3 separate regions of the Homo sapiens genome follow, and all the other regions are linked to region 2. Evidence: promoter capture Hi-C in 16 types of primary human blood cells and fetal thymus (Javierre and others, 2016). All regions are on one chromosome and are shown on one strand. The core of a region is centred on a gene start or on the middle of the fragment in contact, and the rest is flanking DNA. Distances in the headings are between cores, read along the strand shown.

The links. The method cuts DNA at HindIII sites, captures the fragments that hold promoters and counts their contacts. A CHiCAGO score of 5 or more calls a contact.
Region 1: a contact is called between the fragment with the promoter of CIROZ here and the fragment with the promoter of FBXO2 in region 2, in 2 of 17 cell types (M0 macrophages and total B cells). The highest score is 6.8, in M0 macrophages.
Region 3: a contact is called between the fragment with the promoter of TARDBP here and the fragment with the promoter of FBXO2 in region 2, in 9 of 17 cell types (M2 macrophages, activated CD4 T cells, fetal thymus and 6 more). The highest score is 6.0, in M2 macrophages.

What each region holds. Positions count from the first base shown.
Region 1 is chr1:10,980,738-10,983,972 of GRCh38, forward strand. It overlaps CIROZ (ciliated left-right organizer protein containing ZP-N domains), which reads right to left and starts at 1,339. Exons shown (of 13, transcript NM_001170754.2): 1 at 1,275-1,339. The coding sequence starts at 1,300. The HindIII fragment of the contact is 7,392 bases long and covers 1-3,235 here.
Region 2 is chr1:11,653,179-11,656,349 of GRCh38, forward strand. FBXO2 (F-box protein 2) reads right to left here and starts at 1,251. Exons shown (of 6, transcript NM_012168.6): 1 at 1,141-1,251. The coding sequence starts at 1,162. It overlaps FBXO44 (F-box protein 44), which reads left to right and starts at 1,699. Exons shown (of 6, transcript NM_033182.7): 1 at 1,699-1,774; 2 at 2,628-2,922. The coding sequence starts at 2,658. RefSeq lists silencers at 1,201-1,340, 1,581-1,810, 1,861-1,930. The HindIII fragment of the contact is 12,019 bases long and covers 1-3,171 here.
Region 3 is chr1:11,011,012-11,014,561 of GRCh38, forward strand. TARDBP (TAR DNA binding protein) reads left to right here and starts at 1,643. Exons shown (of 6, transcript NM_007375.4): 1 at 1,643-1,732; 2 at 2,705-2,954. The coding sequence starts at 2,717. RefSeq lists silencers at 1,076-1,305, 2,715-2,961 and enhancers at 1,346-1,675, 1,386-2,353. The HindIII fragment of the contact is 20,579 bases long and covers 1-3,550 here.

The DNA of each region.
Region 1 (3,235 bases), core at 89-2,588, 670 kb before region 2:
CATCAATCGGGAGAAAGATGTGGGTTTGGGTTTTTCCCCCTCACTTCTCAGACCCAGAACTGCCCCATCCCAGTCTGGGGGGAGACATGATGCTCCATCCCCCAAAGCTGAGCCCCCTCATGGGGCATCCAGGAGAAGGCAATGGGTCCCCAGGACAGGGCCCGGACCTCCCCCTTGCTCGCCCAGCCCCACAAAGCCCCACTCAGCTTCTCCACTGCCTTCATTGTCTACAGACTTCAACCTCACAAAACGCCCAACAAAAGCCCTGCAGTCCACGGCCCAAAGGCCACAAGCCAGCTATTGTGACATTCCAGCTGGCCTGGGAGGCTTCACTTCCCACTCTCAGGAGCTTTTTAAAGTATCTCTTAAAAATGCATCTCAGATGGGGAAAAGAGGTAGCAATTCTGTTGCCAAGGAAAATGAGATTTTGGCCAAGTGCAGTGAGTCATGCCCGTAATCCCAATACTTTGGGAGGCCGAGACAGGAGGATGGCTTGAACCCAGGAGTTTAAGACCAGCCTGGGCAACACAGTAAGACCCTGTCTCTACAAAAAAATTAAAAAATTACCAAAGTGTGGTGGCACATGCCTATGGTCCCAGCTACTCAGGAGGCTAAAGTGGGATGATCACTTGAGCCCAGGAGTTAAGAGATGACAGTGAACTATGATCTTGCCACTGCACTCCAGCCTGGGCAACAGAGCAAGACTCTATCTCAGGAAGAAGGAGAGACAGAGAGGGAGAGAGAGAGAGAAAGAGAAAAGAAAGGAAAGGGAAGGAAGGAAGGAGAAAGGAAGGAAGGCAGGGAGGGAAGGAAGGAAGGGAGGGAAGGAAGGAAAATGAAATTTTCTCCTAATCCTTACAATCGAATAGCTAGCGACCACAACTCCTATCATTTGAAAACTCCTTGAAATCAAGCATCTCTTGGTCAACTTGACCCCTAATTTGTTTTGTTTTAAGGACCCTCTAGGACAAGGAAGACGTGTTCTGTTTTCTCCCAATCTTCTGGAAATCCTTCCCAAGATGGGAGGACTGGAATTCCAGAACAAGGGATGACAGGAGCATGAGAAAGGTGGGAGAGACTGTGGCCGGACCTCACCTGAGAAAGTCAGCCCTTCCCAAGGCATCCATGCATCTGGGCCCCTCACCCATTTGGCCCCCTTCCCTCTTAGATGCAAGGCTTCTGATTCTGATGGAAGATATTTGGCTTCTTCAAGGAGTGTGGGCACACTAAGCATGCCACTGGCTTCTCCCAATTCCTGAATAAGGGACACTTACCAGGCAAGTGCTGGGGACCCCCACATCCTCAGGCCCAGCAGCTCTCTCCTGCCCTGGGAGAATTTAATCTGAAGCAGTTCCAAGCAACTAAACGAAAGGTTGGCTCCTCCCCTTCCCCTCCAGTGCAGGTCTCGGGTCACTCAGGTGCCAGAAAACACAGGTGGGTGTCAACACTCTCAGCTTCTCCCCATCCCTCTGCATGGGTGAGATGAATTGCTTCAGCCGTGGGAGCTCAAAATAAGATTGCGGATCAGAAGGCTGAAGATGAATTGATCCACTGAGGCTGGAGTGCAGGCCCTCATTCTCCGCTCCCGGGAGAAGCCTGTCTCTGTGCCCAAGGAAGGAAAGAAGCTAAGAAACTGAGCTTCACCGGAGGAACAGTCACGCTGTCTTGATGGGGCTTCCCAGAACCCTGCTCCAGGCCCCTCCTGGCAGAGTTCAAAAGGAGCTGAGGGGCCAGGCATGGTGGCTCATGCCTGTAACCCCAGCATTTTGGGATGCAGAGATGGGCAGATTGTTTGAGGTCAGGAGTTCGAAACAAGCCAGGGGAACATGGCAAGACCCTGTCTCTACAAAAAATTTAAAAACTAGCTGGGCATGGTGGCACACACCTGTGGTCCTAGCTACTCAGGAGGCTGAGGTGAGAGGATTGCTTGAGCCCAGGAGGTTGAGGCTGCAGTGAGCCCTGATTGTGCTACTGCACTCCAGCCTGGGCAACAGAACAAGACCCTGTCTAAAAAAAAAAAAAAAAGGGGCCGGGCACAGTCACTCATGCCCATAATCCCAGTGATTTGGGAGGGCGAGGCAGGCTGATCACCTGATGTCAGGACTTCGAGACCAGCCTGGCCAACATGGTGAAACCTTATCTCTACTAAAAATACAAAACTAGCCAGGTGTGGGGGTGCACGCCTGTAATCCCAGCTACTTGGGAAGTTAAGGCAGGAGAATTGCTTGAACCCGGGAGATGGAGGTTGCAGTGAGCCAAGATCGTACCATTGTACTGCAGCCTGGGTGACAAGAGCAAAACTCCGTCTAAAAAAAAAAAAAAAAAAAAAAAAAAAAAAAAAAAAAAAAAAAAAGACCAGGCGCAGTGACTCACGCCTGTAATCCTAGCACTTTGGGAGGCTGAGGTGGGTGGATCATCAGGTCAGGAGTTTGAGACCAGCCTGGCCAACATGGTGAAACCCTGTCTCTACCAAAAATACAAAAAATAGCCGGGCTTGGTGGTGGGCACCTGTAATCCCAGCTACTCTGGAGGCTGAGGCAGGAGAATCGCTTGAACCTGGAAGGCAGAGATTGCAGACAGCTGAGATCGTGCCATTGCACTCCAGCCTGGGCGATACAATAAGACTCCGTCTCAAAAAAAAAAAAAAAAAGGAAGAGGAGATTAGGGCACGGACACATACGGAGGAATGACGGTGTGAGGACACAGGGAGAAGATGGCCAGCTGTGAGCCAGAGAGGCAGCTCCGGAGAAACCAGCCCTGCCTGCACCTTGATCTCAGACTCCTAGCCTCTAGAACTGTGAAGAAATCAATTGGTGTGTAAATCCCAAGTCTGTGGTACTCTGTCGTGGCAGCCCTTGCAAACAAATATCCCTGCAAAATGAGGATTTAGGACTAGATGGTTCCTAATACCCTTTGCAAGTGAAAAAAAAAAAAAGTCTTGATTTTAACTATTCCATTTTATCTGTGTTTATCCCTTCCTCCCCCCGCCCCAAATACTTGCCATTATTGAAAGTCGAGGAAGCCAGGCACAGTGGCTCACTCCAGCCTGGGCAACAGAGCAAGATTGTATCTCAGGAAGAGAGACAGAGAGGGAGAGAGAGAAAGAGAGCCTGTAATCCCAACATTTTAGGAGGCTGAGGTTGGCAGATCACCTGAGGTCAGGAGTTCGAGACCAGCCTGGCCAATATGGCGAAACCCCATCTCTACTAAAATTACAAAAATTAGCCGGGCATGA
Region 2 (3,171 bases), core at 1-2,500:
TCCGGCCCTGGCCCCATCGGACACCTGATGCTCCCCGAAAGGTGCACCTCACCCAGTCCCCTCTTCTGGCCCCGGGGCCTGGCACTCGAGGCCCCAGATCCAATTACAGCTCCCCCCACCCTCTCTCTTACACACACAACTCCCCACATTGTTGCCGGCGGAAAGTTATCTGGCCCCTGGAAGCTGCCTGCCTGCGAGGCTGACTCACTCACCTGGAGTGGGCCCCAGAGTCCAGGGTATAGCTGATCCCTGGGAAAAAGCAGGAGCCAGTTCTGGAGCCCTACAGAGGGTGTGGCCAGAAGGCCGTGGATTGGGAGCAAGGGCTGCGAGAGCTGGAATTTTCAGGGCTGGAGGCGGGGGAATGGGGGGTGAGGGGGGGCCTGAGCTTTCATCAGTCTGTTTGCCACCGCCTAACCCAAGCAATGCCCATCCCCAGCTGGACCTGATGAGGAAAGAGTGAGGGCTGTCTGCAGGCAGGTCTTGTTTCCATCCTGACTCAGCAGGCAACCCCTGCAGGCCCCGCAGGGAGTTGGAGGGATGGGGGTGAGGGGTCTTGGGTGCCAGAGAGGATGACTGGGCAGCCTGGGAAGGCCCTGAGCACCAGCCAAAGCTGCCCCCAACGCTCCCTCACCGCTAGTCGGGTCCCCACTGGGCATCTCACCACCCCGGGGAGGGGCAGCCCCTCCAGACAAGGGAGCTCAGGAGGAAGGCAGGAATAGGTGAGGCCAGGCCTGGGACCCCAAGGAACCCACGGGGATTCAGACGGCCCAAGGCCCAGAGCTGGAAGAGCTGATGAAAGAAAAGGCTCGCAGCCTCCCTCCCAGACGCATCCCAGGCCCCCGCCAGACAGACCCTCAGGAAGCTGGGAGGCGGGAATGTGGGGGTCCTCTGGTGCTACTTCCTGGCTAAATGGGACCCAGGAGTTCTCTCTCCTTGCCAGTCGCCTCTCAAGGCCTCCCGCCAGACCAAGATAGCAGAGAGACGTGCTCTTTGGAGACCGCCTCTAGGGCTTCGCTGGCGTGAAAGTTTGCCGCGCCAGGTCTCCGGGTCCCCTCGCTCTCTGACGCCCCTCTGTGCAGCGCTCGCCCGCCGACCCCATCTCCCCTCCCCGCCGCAGCGAGCGGTCCAGGCGTCGGCTACCTGGGTCACCGTCTCCGTCCATCGCTGCGGAGGGCGGTCGCGAGAGGAGGAGCCGGAGCGCTGCGGGCTGCGCGAGTCCCGGGGCGGCGAGTCCCGGCGCTGTCCGCGTCTGTGTCGGTCCCGGCGACCGCGCCTCTTAAAGGCCCCCGACCCGACCCGCCCCGCCCCGCCTCTGGCCCCGCGCCCGGCCGCCCCGCAGTCCCAGCAGTCTGCTCGAGGCCCGGGGCTGCGGGTTCCTCAGCGGACCGAGGAGGCTGGGAAAGGTCAGGAGTCGTTTTTTTTCCAACTGGGGAGGGGTCCGATTTGGGGCATCTCGCAGCTCGCTCCTGGGGGACTGCTGGGAGGAGGCGGCTAGGGGAGGCACGGAGAGGCTGGGTCAGGCCGAGGGTGAGGGGCGGGTGGCCCAGGCGGAGTCGGAGTATAGGAGGTGCCTTCCGCCCCACCCCCCACACCAGGTAATTTTCCTACGACGCGGTGGGGGTGCGTCCCTGGCCCAGCGCTGCGCGGGGCGGGGCGCGGGGCGCGGGGGCGGGGCCTGGCGGGCCGGGGCGGGGCCTCGCTTTCCAGGCAAGCGCAGGTCCAGGCGGTGCAGCTTGGGCGGCCCAACGGATCGTGCCGCGGCGGCCGAGCGCAGGTGACCGGCAGGAGGGGGCGCGGGGGGCGCTGGGGAGGGGGCGCGGCTGGGCGGGGGCTGCCGGGAAGGCTCCTGGGTTCCGGGTCGCGCCGCAGTTGCCGAGGGAGGCCTGGCACCGACCAGGCCCAGGCCGCCGAGCTTGCCCGGGCTGCGCTGCGCGGCTGCGAACGGGGGCTGGGGTCGCCATCGATGTACAGGGGTCCGAGCCCAGACTTTGGGGGGCATTTTAAGGCACAGCGTGGGAAGGGGAGGCTGCAGGCGCGCTGGCGGACTTGGGGCTGGCGGAGCCCAGCCGCGGGGCTGGGGGTGGGAGTGGGGGTGGGGAGATAGGAAGGGCCCTTCCCTGTCGCCCACCCTCTTGCCACTCCCACCTAGGCAGGAGATCATGTCCTCTGAGATCTTGAGAAGGTGGCTGGAGCCCTTTGGACCTCCGCGGGAGGCAGTGATAATTAGCCTCCTCCTCCCATCATGTTCTGAGGATGGGAGAGAGGATGGTGACGGCACCGGAGGCCTGGGGTGCTCTGCCCGGCTGCGCATTATATCCCCATTAAAGACTGGCCTACTGAAAAAGGCTGGCCCTGGAATCAAAGAAGATCCGGGCTTCTTCCCCCTCTGCCCTTATTTTTGACCTTGGGCAGTGCCTTCCACCTCTATTGTGAGAGGCCAGAGAAAAAAATCAGAGCTCACCTTTTATTAAAGTACCTGATGTGTCCCAAGCTCCTTGGACCGCCCCAGTGACCCCTGGAGGTAAGGCATCCATTTACAGAGAAGGAAACAGGCTGGGAGAGGCACCATGCTCTCCCGAGATAAATGGCAGAGCAGGGATGAGGCCTGCAGCATAGCTTTTCAACAGCTACAGGAGGGTGTCCAGAAGCCACAAGCCATGGCTGTGGGGAACATCAACGAGCTGCCCGAGAACATCCTGCTGGAGCTGTTCACGCACGTGCCCGCCCGCCAGCTGCTGCTGAACTGCCGCCTGGTCTGCAGCCTCTGGCGGGACCTCATCGACCTCGTGACCCTCTGGAAACGCAAGTGCCTGCGAGAGGGCTTCATCACTGAGGACTGGGACCAGCCCGTGGCCGACTGGAAGATCTTCTACTTCTTACGGAGCCTGCACAGGAACCTCCTGCACAACCCGTGCGCTGAAGGTGGGGTACAGGCCGGGTCTGGCATGCCTCCAGTACACAGTCATGACACCAGGAACATGTATTGAGCACTTAGTATGAGCCGGGTACTTTGGATGGTTTAACACCTTTACTTCTCTCACAGTAACCCAAAGAGGTAGCTACTGTTAGTGCACACATTTTTCAGATGGGCAAACTGAGGCCAAGAGTGGTGTTTCTTATTCTTACTATACTCTTTTTTTTTTTTTTTTTTTTTTGAGACGGAGTTTCACT
Region 3 (3,550 bases), core at 393-2,892, 640 kb before region 2:
GGGCGTGGTGGCACTTTGGGAGGCCGAGGTGGGCGGATCACCTGAGGTCAGGAGTTTGAGACCAGCCTGGCCAACAGGGGTTAAAAATACAAAAATTAGCCGGGCATGGTGGTGCATGCCTGTAGACCCAACTACTCAGGAGGCTGAGGCAGGAGAATTGCTTGAACCGGGGAGGCGGAGGTTGCAGTGAGCTGAGATTGTGCCACTGCACTCCACCTTAGGCAACAGAGGGAGTCTGAAAAAAAGGAAGAGAAAAGAAAGAGAGAGAGAGAGAAAGAGAGAGAGGTAGGGAGGAAGGAAGGTGGGAAGGGAGGGAAGGGGGGGAAAGGGAGGGAAGGGAGGAAAGGAAGGGAAGGAAAGGAAAGAAAGGAAAGAAAAGATAGAAAAGAAAGGTGGCTCGTGCCTGTAATCCCAGCACTTTGGGGAGCTGAGGCAGGCGGATCACTTGAGGCCATGAGTTCGAGATCAGCCTGGCCAACATGGCCAAACCCTGTCTCTACTAAAAATACAAAAATTAGCCGGGCATGGTGTCTTTGCACGCCTATAATCCCAGCTATCCCTTGAACCTAGGAGTTGGAAGTGGCAGTGAGCTGCAGATTGCGCCACTGCACTCCAGCCTGGGGGACAAGAGCGAGACTCCGTCTCAAAAAAAAAAAAAAAAAAAGTGAAACAAAAAGTGTGCCTTAAAATAGATGAAGTACTGTATTATTATTATTATTAAAGGGCTGGAGCCAGAACAAGTTAGCATTTTGTGCCTCGAGATTCAAATCCCAGGTCTACCATTTATTCCTTGGGTGACATTTTTTTGGGGGGAGGGGCTGGAGGACAGGGTCTCACTCTGTCGCCTAGACTGGAGTGAAGTGGCGCGATCTCGGCTCACCGCAACCTCCGCCTACCGCGTTCAAGCAATTCTCCTGCTTCAGGCTCCCGAGTAGATGGGACTACAGGCGCGCGCCACTACCGCCCGGCTAATCCTTGCGTCACTTTAAGCAAGACACTTGATCTCTCTGTGCCTCAGTTTCCTCACCCGCAGAATGAATATCAATAGCTCCTGCTACACAAAACTGTTTGGGCTATTAAATATGTGAATACTCAGAAAGTACCTGGCACAAAGTAGCCTTATCATTGCTATTATTTAGAACAAAGTTATTGTTTCCAGGTTTGGAGGTGGGCTGGCGGAGGGAGGAGAAGACGCACTAGGTTGCCTTTCAGAAAAGGGGTCCAGGCCTTATCCTGCCTCCCAGGTGGACTCGGCCCGGGATCCCGAGCCCCGCCCCCTCCAGGCCCCGCCCCGCCCCGCCCTCGCTGGCCGAGACTCTGTGCTACTCTCGCGCGCTTTGAAAGTGCGCGAGCTCCGACCGAGACCTGGGCCGGCGGTTGGTCGGCCGAAACCATCTGCTACGTTACGTGGGGGGAGGTCAGCTCCTATACAGCCACACTTTTTTCAATCTTCAGCTTTTCAGGCCTAGGTCCTGGTTTTATTTTAGCTTTCAGAGCTTCTCTGTAGGCTTGAATTTCCAGGAGGCAGCCCGAGTCCCTGGGGAGAGGGTCATCGTGGCTCTCGTCGGTGCCTTCCACCTCTGGACAGGCAACCGGTGGGAGAGGACGCCGGTGGGCGGGGGGAGGAGGCGGCCCTAGCGCCATTTTGTGGGAGCGAAGCGGTGGCTGGGCTGCGCTTGGGTCCGTCGCTGCTTCGGTGTCCCTGTCGGGCTTCCCAGCAGCGGCCTAGCGGGTGAGTCGCGGAGCCTTCTCACTGAGGACGCCGTAGGTGCCTCGGCTTCTGCATTGGGGCGGCCCGAGGCAGACGCAGCGGCTTCGGACCCTGCCCCGGGAAGTCAGCCGTGAGACCGGGCCTAGTCCTGCCCGAGCGGGCTCGCGCGGGAGCGTCGTTAGGTCCTGGCACGGGGAGGCCGGTGGCGCCGAAACGGGGGGCCGGGCCCGCGGTGCCGCGTAGCCTGAGGCGGAGGTTGGCCCCGGACCCGGACAGTGCCGGAGCCTTCGGTACTTTGTACTTCGAGGGACGCTGCCAGCTTGGGCCTGGTGCTCCTGCGCCCCACCCCGGGCCGCGCCGAGAAACTCCTCCCTCGGCTGGCACGCGCGGGCTTCTGGGAGGCGACGGCCGGCACCGCCAGGACCTGTCGCCGCGGGCCTTGGGGCTCGGGCTCGCAGAGCCCCCGGAAGCCCCAAAATGAGGAACAGAGGGAAACTTTTCTCCTGTTCTTTACACCTGGTTCACTGCCCATATTCAGTCTTCAGGTTCAGCTGATGGATCGCTTGCTTAGGAAAATCGACTGGGACCTATCACGCCCATGCCTCAGCCAGTTAGGCTCCTCCTCTGCCTTCAGGATTACTTAACGACTAACCCGATTGTCATAAAATAGCTACTGTTTATTGTTCCCTTGCATACCCTAGCTTGTAACCAGCAAGCCACGTTGGACTCACAGTTACAGTTTCAGTACCTGACGCATCATAAGCCTTCAGGGAAAGTTTTTTGAATGAATGAACTGGCGAGGCATCACATTTTGATAGGAAATCACTACCCTTACCTTCACCTCGTCATTTTTCAGGGATAACCAATGCATATACGAATCCAGACAAGCATTTTTCTGGAAGTCAGAACTCTGACATGGTTTGGGTATTATCATTATAAGGAAACAGTTATTCTGACATGAATGTTGTTCATTCATATCTCTTTTCTCTTTAGGAAAAGTAAAAGATGTCTGAATATATTCGGGTAACCGAAGATGAGAACGATGAGCCCATTGAAATACCATCGGAAGACGATGGGACGGTGCTGCTCTCCACGGTTACAGCCCAGTTTCCAGGGGCGTGTGGGCTTCGCTACAGGAATCCAGTGTCTCAGTGTATGAGAGGTGTCCGGCTGGTAGAAGGAATTCTGCATGCCCCAGATGCTGGCTGGGGAAATCTGGTGTATGTTGTCAACTATCCAAAAGGTTTGTTACCATTTGGTTTTTGTAATCATGCTGAAGTGTGTTCAGGTGTGTGTCTCATCCATGGATCTTAGCCTCTTTTGGTGGCAGAATGTCTCCTGAAACTTAAGTATTTCCTTGAACTTCAGTGTTAGACAAGTTTGGAAGACCACGAGTCTAAATTTATGGAAACTGGGGATTGTAGATCATTTTAAAAGAGAAAACAATGTATTTAAAAAATATCTGAATAAACTTTGCCAAGTTGATGATAAATTTCAGGAATCACTAAGAATGTTTTGTACATAAATCATTGTTGTAAATAGATTCTTCTGAAGTGCTTCAGTGTTTGGATTTGATCATTGTCCTTTTGGTGTTACATCATTCATTCAGCAAATCTGAGTTCATTTTTTCCCTTAAATGAGCAAACAGTTGGAGTAGCCAAATCTTGAATTAGTGCAGTTCCAATTACAATTTCGAGGTTCTGGTCTTATCCTTCTCTCTGCCTCTTATCAATGATGTTCTAAATCTAAGAAAAGGAAGCATGAAGTTTAAGAAGTGTGCCAAGGAAATACCTAATTTCAGCATTTTGAAGTAGTGTGCTGTTAGTAGTCGATCTGTCT